2 separate regions of the Homo sapiens genome follow, and region 2 is linked to region 1. Evidence: promoter capture Hi-C in 16 types of primary human blood cells and fetal thymus (Javierre and others, 2016). All regions are on one chromosome and are shown on one strand. The core of a region is centred on a gene start or on the middle of the fragment in contact, and the rest is flanking DNA. Distances in the headings are between cores, read along the strand shown. Region 1 holds the start of NCAPG2 (non-SMC condensin II complex subunit G2). Region 2 holds the start of LMBR1 (limb development membrane protein 1).

Region 1 (6,796 bases), core at 2,619-5,118:
CATGACTTAGGCTTCCATGCCCAACCTGTCTCTAGCTCAGCCCTTTCCCCTGGTATCCAGACGTGCATGTCTGACTACTGGCCATCCGCTGGTGCACATCCCACCACCAGTCATCTGGTACCTCCAAAATGGAGCCACATTCTCCCTTGAATCTGCCCTCTTCCCACGTTCATGAGCTTGCTGAATGGTACTACACAGTCAGACGCCTGGGCCCTTCCCCACCATATCCATATCCAATCAGTCCAATAGTGCCATCACTTCACTACCAAGCAGCTTCCCATTTCCAGTTCCTAATTCAACCATCATTTTGAAGAGCACAACCTAAGAGGTTAGCCTTAAATATGTCCCTTTGACATATTTCTCACTTGTAGTCAGAGGAATATTTCCAAAAGGCAAACCATATTTTTCTCCTTACCTCTATTTTGTCCACTAGTTCTCTCTCCTTCTCTTTTGTTCTCTTCCTCCCTTGCCTACAGCTCGCTCCCTGCTTCAAGCACCCACCGTTCTCAAGATAAAGTCTGAATTCCTTAAAATGGTAAAGACTCGTGTAGCCTAGCCCCCAGCCTCATCTTCTGCCTTCCTGCTGAACTTCAAGTTCAAACACAACAAACCTTCTCTAGTCTTCAGAGTGACCTTCTTTGTTAGATGGGTCCTTTCCCCCAACATCCCTCTTTGACTGGTTAACTTCTGTTTATCTTTTACATCTTAGCGTAGCCCACCAGCAGGTAGATTTGAGTATAAAGGGTTTTGTTTTCTTCTTTCAAATAAACATTGGTCGCTAAGGATTCACTGAGATAACTATGTTTCTTTTGGGGACATAATGACTTTAGAACATATTTCATATTCACAGTCAAAAATCACAACAAAACTAAAACATGAAACTTACATCAAGTTGAACAAATTGCAAAAACTCTCCAACCAGCTCCTTAGACACGGCTTGTACAAACGTCTCACGTTTTTCCATGACAGATGGCACTGTTCAAATGGCATTTATTTTGTAACCCTAATGGAAAACACAATCATACTGAAACACTTGCAAATATATCTTTTCCTGTAAGATTTAATTTGATATTAACATCCAAGAACTGCAAGAAAATTCCTCAACCACGTATGGCAGACAGTTTCTAAAAACATTCTGACATAAAACACGCTATAATATCTGAAAAACAATTTACTTATTTCCTTTACTGGGGATGTGAATAACATGATATTAATGATATTTTATCAACAATTGTTAATAAAATTACCAACTAAGGAGGGAGAAATCCAAATAGCCTTAGGAAGCTCACCACCATCTCTCCCTTTTTAGTACCTTAGCAAGATGCTGGCTCGGCAGAGCTGAGTTGATTCAACAAAAGAACAATCTGATCCCAGCTGCAGATTCTGAAGATGCTCCCTTTCTAAAGGCCATTCCTCCATCAAAAAAATCCCACTGTTAGTGTCATCTTGTTATTCAAAGTGAGATGGAAAACAGTGGCCCCGGGGGTCACCTGGGATCTTGTTAGACTATGCATTAGGCATGCTCAACCACAGCACCCTCCTCCCACCCCTTCGGGATAATGAGAGCTCAGGGGACTTTGTATACCCTCCATCCTGCCTGTGTTTTTCCAGGAAATTCTATTTCGCATTCACAATACCTGGTGCTACTGGTGCCCTACTGAAAAAACATCAACCTAAAGATGAGGTAATAGCAAATGATGGAACACATTTGCAGTAGGAGCCCCCTCACTTTAAAAATAAATGAAAACCACCTGCACCATTATAAATAGAGCAATATGGAAAATTATTGCCAATAATTATGGGGACAGAGAGTCATCTTAAACATATAATACTAGATTTTAATGTCCAAATTGAACAAAGCAAAAATAACCTCAGTTTAATGACTCCCGAAATAAGTTAACAGTGAAGTCTGGTCATCTCATTCCTCAACTCAAATGGCTGAACTATGAACTACGGTCATGGACCACATAACATTTCAGTCAACAACAGACCACATGTATGACCGTGGTCCCATAAGATTATAATGCCATATTTTTACTGTGCTTTTTCTATGCTTAGATATGTTTAGCGATGCAAATACTTGCCATTGTATTACAGTTGCCTACAGTATTCAGTACAGTAACATTCTAGGAGCAGTAGGCTACACCATACAGCCTATGTGTGTAGGCTACACCTCTAGGTGTAGGCAAGTCCACTCTGTGATGTTCATGCAATGATGAAATTGCCTAACGACAACGTGTCTCCCTCTTTAAATCAAGCATGACTGGCACATTTTTCACTGACAAAGAAAATGGGGAGGGAAGGGAGAGTGGCCAGTAACAAGCATAATGAATAGTGGCTAGGACAAATTCATGATTTTAGAAAAATAATCCAATAAGGTGCAGCAAACACATGGAATCATACATCTTCGCCCGGCAAGTCTGTGAACACTCTCCACTTTTTCATAGTTCTGGTCACTTTTCTTGTTTGCTCTATTTCCAAGTGTACCTCTTTGGCATGTTAGTCCAACTTACAGTAATACACTTCCTCTAGACTACCAAACTTATTCCTATATTTCCCATTTTCCCTCTTATATTAGTGACTGTAATTTTTTAATGGTTAATTTTTCAATCTATCTCCCAAAGTGGCAATATTCCATGTTTCTTGTACCATATGTGCATAAGACCTCAGCCCTGCAGCCAGAATGCTACTTTCAAGGTAAGGAGTCATCTCACCATCCAGTTATCAGTCCGAAGAGCAGGTTACTCTTCGCACAGGAGGTCTGGTACTAAATCAAGATGAGCATTAAAAAGAAGAAATCCCTGTTACCTTCTCACCACCTGTGACTTCCCACTCCGTCCCCAAACTCCTTCCTCATGGACACAACAAGAGGCACCAAACCAGCAACAAGAGTTCAGGAGACTGATGTCTCTGAGGACAATGCCCACGTCCACAGCTGGGGAGATACTCTCTGAGGGCAGTGCCTACACCCAGGGCTCAGGGGGACTCTCTCTAAGGGCAGTACCGACACCCAGGACTGAGGGGACTCTCTCTGAGGGCAGTTCCCATGCCCAGGACAGAGGGGGTCGCTCTCTGAGGGCAGTGCCCATGCCCAGGACTGAGGGGACGCTCTCTGAGGGCAGTGCCCATGCTCAGGACTGAGGGGGTCGCTCTCTGAGGGTAGTGCCCATGCCCAGGACTGAGGGGACGCTCTCTGAGGGCAGTGCCCATGCCCAGGACTGAGGGGGTCGCTCTCTGAGGGCAGTGCCCATGCTCAGGACTGAGGGGGTCGCTCTCTGAGGGTAGTGCCCATGCCCAGGACTGAGGGGACGCTCTCTGAGGGCAGTGCCCATGCTCAGGACTGAGGGGGTCGCTCTCTGAGGGTAGTGCCCATGCCCAGGACTGAGGGGACACTCTCTGAGGGCAGTTCCCATGCCCAGGACAGAGGAGGTCGCTCTCTGAGGGCAGTGCCCATGCCCAGGACTGAGGGGACACTCTCTGAGGACGGTGCCCATGCTCAGGGCTGGGGGGTCGCTCTCTGAGGGCAGTGCCCGCGCCCGGGGCTGGGATTTTCCTCCGACACGGACAAGAAGGACGGGCGTCGCTGAGCTGGGTAGGGGGGATGGCCCGGGGTCGCCAGTTCCGTCCAGTTCCGTCAGAGGCAGCACTGCCCGCACGCAGGTCGGCCGCCTCCTTAGGGGAGGGGAGGCTGGGACCCCGACCAGCCGAGGAGGGGCTTCCCGCCCGATCCCTGCTACTTCCCAGCCCCTGCTCTGAACCCAATCCCGGCTCGGCACCGCAGCTCTTACCTGGGCTCGGGGACCCGCCGTTTCCCGCGCTCGGACCAGATTCAAACGCACCCGCCGGCGCCCCAGACGGGCCCCGCCCTCCCGGTCGTCATCAGGCGCCGCTCTCGCGAGAGCTGGGGCGCCGCGAGCCTCGGGCCTCGCCCACACGCCCGGCCCGCCCCGCCTCCAGATCATGCCCCGCCCACATGCCCGCCAGTCTTCTTCCTGTCTATGCCCCGCCTCTTAGGGCGCGGCCTCGAGCAGCTAAGCCCAGTGCCCTACCGGGCACTACGGAACGCGCACGCGGGGCGCCACAGCTGGGGAACCCATGCCCGGTCCGCGCGCCGACGTCCACTGCGCGCTCGTGCGCGTCCTGGGGCCTCCGCGGAGGGAGTGCGCGGTCCAGGAGAGGGCGGGGCGCTGCGAGCGGGCGGTGTTGTGGGAAGGAGGAAGGAGAGGAAGAGAGAGAGGGGGAGAGAAAGGAAAGGCTTGGGGCGGGGAGAGGCCACAGGGCCGTGTCTGGATCCCCGGGAGGACCCCACCCCGACCTGGCCGGCCCCCGTGACCGCCCTCCCTGCCGAGGGGGCACCTGTCCGGGTGGTCCGCAGCCTGCACACGGTAGGTGCACCCTGGGCAGGTGCTTCCCCCGCAGGAGCCCCTCCGGCCAGGTGCGGCCCCTAACAGGTGCTTCTCCTGCAGTTGCTCCTCCAGCAGGTGAGGCCCCCGGCAGGTCAGCTGCCCATAGGGTGGAGAGGGAGAGGCCTTAGCGGGGACCCTCGGAGGCACCCGTGTGAAGGAGGAGTAGCAATGTCATTCAATTCTTTGGACTTAAATGCCAAAATCACATACTGATGTATCAATCTCTTTTAATTTGTGTCAGCGAATAACTTGATTGGGCGTTCCCAATTTTTGTTGAAAGCAAATTCTTAGAAAACGGTGCTCTTTACCACCGAGCTCTGCATCCCTTCGTGAGGACTTGGCCTTCCCTGGAGCTATATTCTTTCATGCTTGAGATGTCTAGAGTGGTATCTGTTTTCCTGGCTTAACTCAAGCCAGAGGTCTTGGCGAGATTGAAGTCGTTGCACTGTGGGAGCACAGCACCAACCAATAGGAACATCATGGGAGCCACAAGTGCACTTGTAAATTTCTAGTGACCACATTAGAAAAATGAAGATAAATAGGTGACATTAATTTTTAAATATGTTTTATTTAGCCTAGTATATCAAAAATATTTATGTTACTTGTTGGAATATCGTTTCAACAAGCAATATAAAATTATAGCAGGGAGAAGACTGGTTTACTAGGAAGCTTGCAACAGTGAAGCAAGGCAGGCTGCAGAGGGGAGGGAGAAGACCCACTCAGAGGATGCTGAGTCTGGGACCCTTGTCAACAGGTGGCCGATATCTAACATTGCCTATTTCATCCTGGGGCTCCAGCCACCTCTGACCTCCTCCTCCCTCCATACACAGATCCTTCCCTGCCATTTCTTGAATTTTGGTGCCCTCATCTTCTCACTGCTTTCTTCTTAGCAATTTCCTTCATATCCAAGGTGCAAACTGCCACCTTCAAGCAGTGACCTCTGCATCTGGATTTGCAAGACACGGTTATTTCTGAACTCCAGAATTTTCAACAGCTCACTGCCTACTCCCACGCTGGTGCTGACATGCATCCAAAACAGATATCGACTTCCCCTCCCACCCCTGAATCCTGCCCCTTTCCTTATGCTGGTCCCTCCTCCAATCAGCCATCTGTTCCTGGGGTTTCCACTTCCTGAGTAGGAATAATGTAACAAGTTACGCATGTGAGCTCTGAAGCTGTACCACCTGGGCTAACCTGGTTCTGTGCTCACTAGCTGGTGACCTTTGACAAGCCATGGACGACTGAGCCTCAGTTTCCTCATCTATCAAATGGGACCTACTTAAGTACTGAGCCTCCTCTAGGGGGTTGTTATGAGGCCTAAATGTCTGTATAATGCAGAGCTCAGCCTCCTCTAGGGGGTTGTTATGAGGCCTAAATGTCTATGTAGTGCAGTGCTCAGAGGCACGTGGAAGCAGGGCAGCAGGAGCGCCCAGTGCACCCCCAATGCACCTGCCCATGCAGCCACTAATGTCATAGGATCCTTTGGGTATCGCTTCACCAGCTAGAAACCTCCGTGGCCAGCGGTGCCTCTGCTAGAGTTTTGCTCGAGCCCACTCAGCCCAGCAGGTTGCACTCGGCTTGCACTACCAACCCAGATCCCACGCCTGCCAAGGGTGAGCCAGGTGCAGAGCGGCAAGGGGTATGTGAGCAAGCGAGCATGGGGTCCAACCACTGCGCACACCCAGCCATGCAGCTGCTGTGGTGGAGCAGGCAGCTCTAGGTGCCTGCACAGCTGCCGGCTCCATGCAAGGCTGTGGCTGGACCAGAGGTACCACAAGTGGCTTCCACTGCAGGCATCAGCATCTGGACAAGGGGAACATGGTGGCACCCGAAAGCTCACAGATGCCAGGAGCCACAGAGCCCCAAAGGGGGGTTACACTGTGTCACAGCCCTGGCTCGGGGAGCCCCGAGGTCTGGGCTCCCAGAAGGGCCACAGCTCTTCTGTCCTTCTCATCACCCACAGCGTGGCTAGCAGGGGGTCGTGTTTCCGGGGCGGCATGTTTCACCTCATTTGTGTTACAGGTCTTTTGGTCCTGCCGCCCCACACCGGTCCACGGCTCCTTGGCTGTCCCGGCCCCACCGCTGCTTCCCACTGCATGGGGTGGCCACTGGGCGCCAGCAGAGGGTGGGAGGGCTATAGCATTATAGCTCTGGCTTGGGGAATCCCAAGGCCTGGGCCTCTACAAGGGTCACCACTCTTCACTCCCTCAGTCTGGGAGCGTGTCACCACCCGCAGCTCAGCGACCCGGCCAGGAACCCGTTACAGCCACTTTGGCTCCCACCTGCAACTTGGCAAGCTGGCCAGGAAAGTATTACAGCTCGTTTTGCTCTCACCATTCAGCAGGTTCCAAGTTCTTGTCCCATGTCCAGGAAGAATGAGGTTTGGCAGA
Region 2 (6,805 bases), core at 4,306-6,805, 1.8 Mb before region 1:
ACACAAAAAAACACAGGCAACAAATGAAAAAATAGATCAATTGGACTACAAAATTAAAAACTTTTGTGCATCAAAGGACACTAGCAATAGAGTAAAAAGGCAACCCTACAGAATGGGCGAGAAGTGTTTGCAAATCACATGTCTGATAAGGGGTTAATATTCAGAATATATAAAGAACTCCTAAAACTAAACAACAAAAATCAAGCAACTCAATTCAAAAACAGGCAAAGAACAGATATTTCTCCAAAGAAGATGTCCATATAGTCAATAAGCACATGAAACAATGCTGAACTTCACTTATAATTAGGGAAATGCAAATCAAATCCAGCATCAGATACCATTTCACATCCATTTTAAAAAAAAGAAGAAAAACAGAAAACAATGTGTGTTGGTGAAGATGCGGAAGAACCAGAAACTCTGGCTCCTTGCTAGTGGGAATATAAAATGGTACAGCCTCTGTGGAAAATGGTATGGCAGTTCCTCAAAAAAATTAAACATAGAGGCCGGGCGTGGTGGCTCACGCCTGTAATCCCAGCACTTTGGGAGGCTGAGGCGGGCGAATCACGAGGTCAGGAGATCAAGACCTTCCTGGCTAACATGGTGAAACCCCGTCTCTACTAAAAATACAAAAAGTTAGCTGGGCGTGGTGGCGGGTGCCTGTAGTCCCAGCTACTCGGGAGGCTGAGGCAGGAGAATGGCATGAACCGGGGGGGCGGAGCTTGCAGTGAGCCGAGATTGAGTCACTGCACTCCAGCCTGGGAAACACAGCGAGACTCTGTCTCAAAAAAAAAAAAAAAAAAAATTAAACATAGAATTATCATATGATCCAGCAATTCTACTTCTGAATTGAAAGCAGGGACTCTAATAGATATTTGCATACCCATGATCACAGCAGCATTATTCACAATAGCCAAAAACAGAAACAACTCAGGTCAATTGATGAATGAATGGGTAAGCAAAATACAGTATACACAAAAAGAAAATATTATTCAGCCTGAACAAATTCTGGGCCAGGCACGTTGGCTCCCGCCTGTAATCCCAGCACTTTGGGAGGCCAGGGTGGGTGCATCACTTGAGGCCAGGAGTTCAAGAACAGCCTGGGCAACATAGCAAAAACCCCATCTCTACAAAAAATTAAAAAATGAGGCCAGGCACAGTGGCTCACACCTGTAATCCCAGCACTTTGGGAGGCTGAGGCAGGTGGATCACCTGGGGTCAGGAGTTCAAGACCAGCCTGGCCAACATGGTGAAACCCATCTCTACTAAAAATACAAAAATTAGCCAAGTGCGGTGGCGCATGCCTGTAATCCCAGCTACTCGGGAGGCTGAGGCAGGAGAATTGCTTGAACCAGGGAGGGAGAGGTTGCAATGAGCCGAGATCACGCCACTGCACTCTAGCCTGGGCAACAGAGAAAGACTCTGTCTCAAAAAAAAAAAAGAAAGAAAAAGAAATTTTGACACATGCTACAACACAGGTGAACTTTGAAGGCATTATGCTAAGTGAAATAAGCCAGATAGAAAAGGACAAATATTGTATGGTTCAACTGGGAATAGTCAGATTCATATAGGCAGAACCAGCAGCTGGAGAGAGTGAAGAATGGAGAGTTACTGTTTCATGGGTATCAAGTTTCAGTTGATGAAAAAGATCTGGAAATGGATAGTGGTGGTGGTTGCACAACAATGTGAATGTATTTAACGCCACTGAACTGTATATTTAGATATGGTAAATTGCATGTTATATATATATATCTTATTATGATAAAAAAGTTAAGCAATTATAGCATTATGTAGCAAAATCAGAAAGAATTGAATAATTTTAAAAATTGGCAACAGGTCTTAGAGAAAAAGTATTTACATTCACTCTAAATATAAATCATTTGAGAAAGAAATGCCAAAGACTGGGAACCCTGAGCCTGGTCACTGTCTGCGCTGGTTCTGTAGAAGATGGAGTAGACTCAACCAGCCAGGGGTACTGGGTTGAGGGAAACAGGTGAGGAGAGTCAGAACTAAAGAACTCCATAATCGGTACCAAAACCGTTTTCAGGGGAGTAGACGAAGCTCTGGACTGTTTTACAATGTGTCCCTTTCTCAACCCAAATTCTAGAATATCTAATTAATTAAAAGTAAAGCCAAAGAGCAGGAGGATCACTTGAGCCCAGGAGACAGGTCTGGGCAACACGGTGAGACCTCACCTCTACAAAAAATTAAAAGATTAGCTGGGTCTGTTAGTGCACACCTGTATGATTCAAGCCTGTAGTCCCAGCTACTTGGGAAGCTGAGGTGGGAGGATCGCCTGAGCCTTGGAAGTCAAGGCTGCAGTGAGCCATGATTGCGCCACTGCACGACAGCCTGGTCAACAGAGGGAGAACCTGTCTCAAATTTTAAAAAATAATAAAACTAAAGACAAATAGACCAATAAAACCACATAAAGTCCAAAATTAAACCCTATGAATATACAGTTACCTATCTGTGACAAAAGTCCTAAATAGTGCTGAAGCAATTGGACATTCCTGTGGGAGAAAAAAATATGACTCCTACCTTGCACCAGACACAAAAAAATAAATTCGAAATAGATTGCAAATTTAAATGAGAAGAGTAATTCAATAAAGCATTTAGAGAAAAGAAGAAGAGAACATCAGTCTTAGAGTAAGGAGAGATTTCTTAATCGGGACATTAAAAGTACTCAAAAAAATTTTAATAAATTGAACTATATTAAAATTAATAATTTCTGTTCATCAGAAGATATCATTAAAAGTGAAAGGCATCCACAGAGTGGGAAAGAAATATGTGCAGTATATATTTCTGACAAAGAAATCATATCCACCTGTATAACAATATAATACAAGTTATTCTGTAAAGACCTTGCAAATCAATATTAAAAAGATAAACTTAATTTTTAAATGGGGAAAAAAATTTGACCCTTCACAAGATTTCCAAATGGCTAATAAACAAACAGGTGCTCAAATTCATTAGTTATCAGGAAAATGCAAATTAAAATTATTTGTATGATGAACACTATAACACACTTGCTAGAATGACTAAAATTAAAAAGGACAGAAAATATCAAGTATTGATAAAGATGAGTAACAACCACACCTCTGAGACTGTCAGTACTGGCGGAAGTGTACACTGGTACAACCACTTTGGAAAATTGTTTTAAAGTATCTACTAAAGATGAACAAATGCACACTCTTTAACCTAGGGATTCCATTCCTAGGGCTATCCCCAACAGAAATGCACAAACATGTCCACCAAAAGCTATGTACAAAAAGTTCATAGCCAGCCCGGCGTGGTGGCTCATGCCTGTAATCCCAGCACTTTGGGAGGCCAAGGCAGGTGGATCACCTGAGGTCAGGAGTTCAAGGCCAGCCTGGCCAGCATGGAGAAACCCCGTCTCTAATAAAAATAGAAAAATTAGCTGGGTGTGGTGGTGTGTGCCTGTAATCCCAGCTATTCAGGAGGCTGAGGTAGGAGAATCACTTGAATCCCGGAGGCAGAGGTTGCAGTGAGCCGAGATTGTGCCACTGCACTCCAGCCTGGGAGACAGAGCGAGACTCCATCACAAAAAAAAAAAAAAAAAAAAAATATATATATATATATATATATACACACACACACACACACACACACACATATATACATACACATATATATACACATATATATATTCATAGCCAAAACCTAGAAACTACTGAAGTGCCCATCAACAGTAAAATGAAAAATAAATTGTGCTATAGTCACACAACTACTGCACCGAGAATGAATTATAACCACATACAACATGGAGAAATTTCACAAACATTGTACAAGAAACTGGACACAGAAGAGTATATACGGTAAGATTCCATTTACATAAAGTTCAAAACTAAGCAAAAACTAATCTATGATATTAGAAGCCAGGGCAACGTTTACCCTTGGTGGAGGAGAAAGTAATTGGAAGAGGGAAAGGAATCAGTCTCTGGGATCCTAGTAAAATTGTGTTTATTTATTTATTTTTTTATAATGGTAGAGATGGGGATTCACTATGTTGCCCAGGCTGACCAGTCTCAAACTCCTGGTGGATTCAGGAGTACACAGGCGTGTTTAGTATGAAATGATCTGAAGGGTACATGTATGATTACATGAACTTATCTCTGTGTATTTTAGCTTCAATTATAAAAATTACAACTAAATGTGTACCAAATTCCACTAACTCAAATTCCACCAGCTCAGACTTTATATGTCCTCTTTATTCAAAGTATGACTTCCAAAGTGATTCTCAATTTTCAAGATCAGTGAGTACACAAATTAGATAATTCTAAAGCAGAATTTTTTCACCTCAAACCAAGTGTGACTGAATCGTAGACAACTTAGGAGAGGCGTAAATATAAACATAAAAAATTGACATATTTTACAACAGTTATGAAAACACAGATAAACCCAATTACAATACATTCTAGAGCATCATGAAAAGATAAAAACATCAAAGTAGACTTTCCAAGGTCAAGTCCGCTTCCTGACTCCTGCCAACAGCACACATGGAACATGGGCCAAAAAAGAAGCTGCTTCCCTAAGAAGTTGCTTCCATAGCAAAATGGACTTTTGCTGAGGTCCTCACTCCCAAAAATAACCAATATTCTCATCCCAAACGGTAAGGTTTCGAACTCAACCCACGTGGGGGCTGGGGGAGATGAAAGAGGGATGGAAACGTGAGGCGCCAGGAGGGCAGGAGGTGTTGACCGGGACAAGGTAACCGGCCGGGTCCAAACGCGAGAGGCGGGCGGGCTCCGCGCAGCCCGGCCCTTCCCGGACCCGCCGGGCCCACCCAGGCTCTCCGGGACGCCTGCGCATCCACCTGCCTACCTGGCCTGGCGGCGGAGCGCGGGGGCGCGCACTGGCGGGGCCGCCGTCCACACCCCGAGGCGCGAGCCGCACACCCGCCCAGAGAGGAAGCCCCTGGGGTCCCAGAGCGCGGCGCGCACCGCAGCCCTCCCCGCGGGAAGGGAAGGGCAGCACCGAGGCCGCGGGGCGGGGGCGGGGTCGGGGCTCGAACGGAGGGAGCGCGAGGGGGCAGGGGAGGCAAGAGCGGAGCGGGGGGGCAGGCAGAGGAAGCGAAGGGGAGGGGAGGGGAGAGGAGAGGTGGGGAGGGAAGGGGAGGGGAGGGGAGAGGAGGGGTGGGGAGGGAGAGCGGCAGAGGCCGGGGCGGGAGGCGCGAGGCGAGGCCCGGAGGTGAGGGGTCCGGGGACCGGGGGCCCGGGGGCGGGGACGGAGGGCCCGGGCGGGCACGCGGGACTGTCAGGGCTGCCTCGGTCCCCACGCACCGTGGACTCCCGCACTTGGCTGTGGAAGTGCTGCTCCCGCGCCGACACCTCGTCCTGCCCTTCCATCCTCCTTCATGCCCGCCGCCGCGCCGCCCGCGTCCGCGTGCTCCGCCACACCATCGTCCGCCCGCCGCAGGGGCTCGGACAGCCGCGCCGGGGACCGGAGCCGGCACGGGCCCGCGAGCCGTGTTGGAACAGGTACCGCGACCACGACACCGGCCGTCGCCTCAGCAGCCTCAGACGAGCAGCTCTGACTAAGGGAGGGCGGGCGCCGCGCAGTCGGGGGCGGGGCGGGGGCGGGGCAGGGAGGGGAGGGGGCGGTGCAGGCATACGTCAGACGAAAGGCGCCGATGCGTCAGAAAAGCGCGCCTCGCGGTCTTCCGAGCTGCTGGGCCGGGAGGCGCTGAGGGGGCGGGGCCTTGAGGTCGCGGGGCGGGGCTCCGCCCACGCTCTCAGGGGCTACCCCAGTTAAGGAGGCGCTGTCCTGGCGTCGGATGGGGACGGGGAACGCGGCGAGGGCGCTGCGACCTCTGCCCACCTGGCCCGGCCGCAGTCTCGGAGTTCCTGTTCCTCACAGGAGCTAATTATTTATGACAGCTGCATGGTTCCCCTCCCCCAGTTACTCAGTGCTTGGCACTCGGCACCCCTTACTCAGCACTCAGTACCGCACTCGGCCTCAGGGGACCTGGGCAGAGGGAAGCAGGGAGTCTCCCGCGGAAACTCTTGCTCTGCCAAAGTAGGTTGAAAGGTCGGAAATCGGTGGTTTGGGGCCGGGCTTTGGGCGGAAACCCAGCTTCTCTGGGTCTGAGAAGGGTCTTGGGCTGCCCCACCTGGAAAACGCAGATAACCGAGCTCGCTAGACCCTTGCCAAGTCCTTCCGGTAGCTCGGTCACTAGGGTCAGTTTTATGACTCTCAGTGGACCCTAAACAGCACGTAATATATGTATTTTTCACCGCCAAATATATCAAACACAATAATTCACCCTCCGTTCCCTATTATCTTTCTTTTTGTTATAAAATTTGAATTTAAGGGAATGTTTATAATTTTACCTTAGGATTTATTTGGCTACGAGGAAGTCATTTAAATTGCTAGTGGCTGCGATTTTTGTTTTTGGCATCTTTGAGAATTCTTAGGAAGTGTGAAAATCTACAAATTGCTTTCAAATGTCATTTAGTTTTTGTTTTTGTTTTTTTTTTTTTTGAGACAGAGTTTCACTCTTGTCGCCCAGGCTGGAGTGCAATGGCGATCTCTGCTCACAACAACCTCTGCCTCTTGGGTTCAAGTGATTCTCCTGCCTCAGCCTCCCGAGTAGCTGGGATTACAGGCGCCCGCCACCACGCCCAGCTAATTTTTGTATTTTTAGTAGAGACGGGGTTTCACCACGTTGGCCAAGCTGTTCTTGAACTCCTGACCTCAGGTGATCCGCCCACCTCGTCCTCCCAAAGTGCTGGGATTACAGGCCTGAGCCACCGCGCCCGGCCGTTGTTTAGATTTTTATGAATCT

What was found. The method cuts DNA at HindIII sites, captures the fragments that hold promoters and counts their contacts. A CHiCAGO score of 5 or more calls a contact.
Region 2: a contact is called between the fragment with the promoter of LMBR1 here and the fragment with the promoter of NCAPG2 in region 1, in 1 of 17 cell types (neutrophils). The highest score is 7.4, in neutrophils.

The regions. Positions count from the first base shown.
Region 1 is chr7:158,700,936-158,707,731 of GRCh38, forward strand. It overlaps NCAPG2 (non-SMC condensin II complex subunit G2), which reads right to left and starts at 3,869. Exons shown (of 28, transcript NM_017760.7): 1 at 3,789-3,869; 2 at 887-1,003. The coding sequence starts at 964. RefSeq lists an enhancer at 2,630-3,208 and silencers at 3,786-3,885, 4,036-4,125, 4,246-4,525. The HindIII fragment of the contact is 5,779 bases long and covers 1-5,073 here.
Region 2 is chr7:156,887,628-156,894,432 of GRCh38, forward strand. LMBR1 (limb development membrane protein 1) reads right to left here and starts at 5,556. Exons shown (of 17, transcript NM_022458.4): 1 at 5,301-5,556. The coding sequence starts at 5,366. LOC102723795 (a long non-coding RNA gene) reads left to right here and starts at 5,771. Exons shown (of 4, transcript XR_928253.3): 1 at 5,771-6,036. RefSeq lists silencers at 4,648-5,147, 5,198-5,777. The HindIII fragment of the contact is 17,725 bases long and covers 1-6,805 here.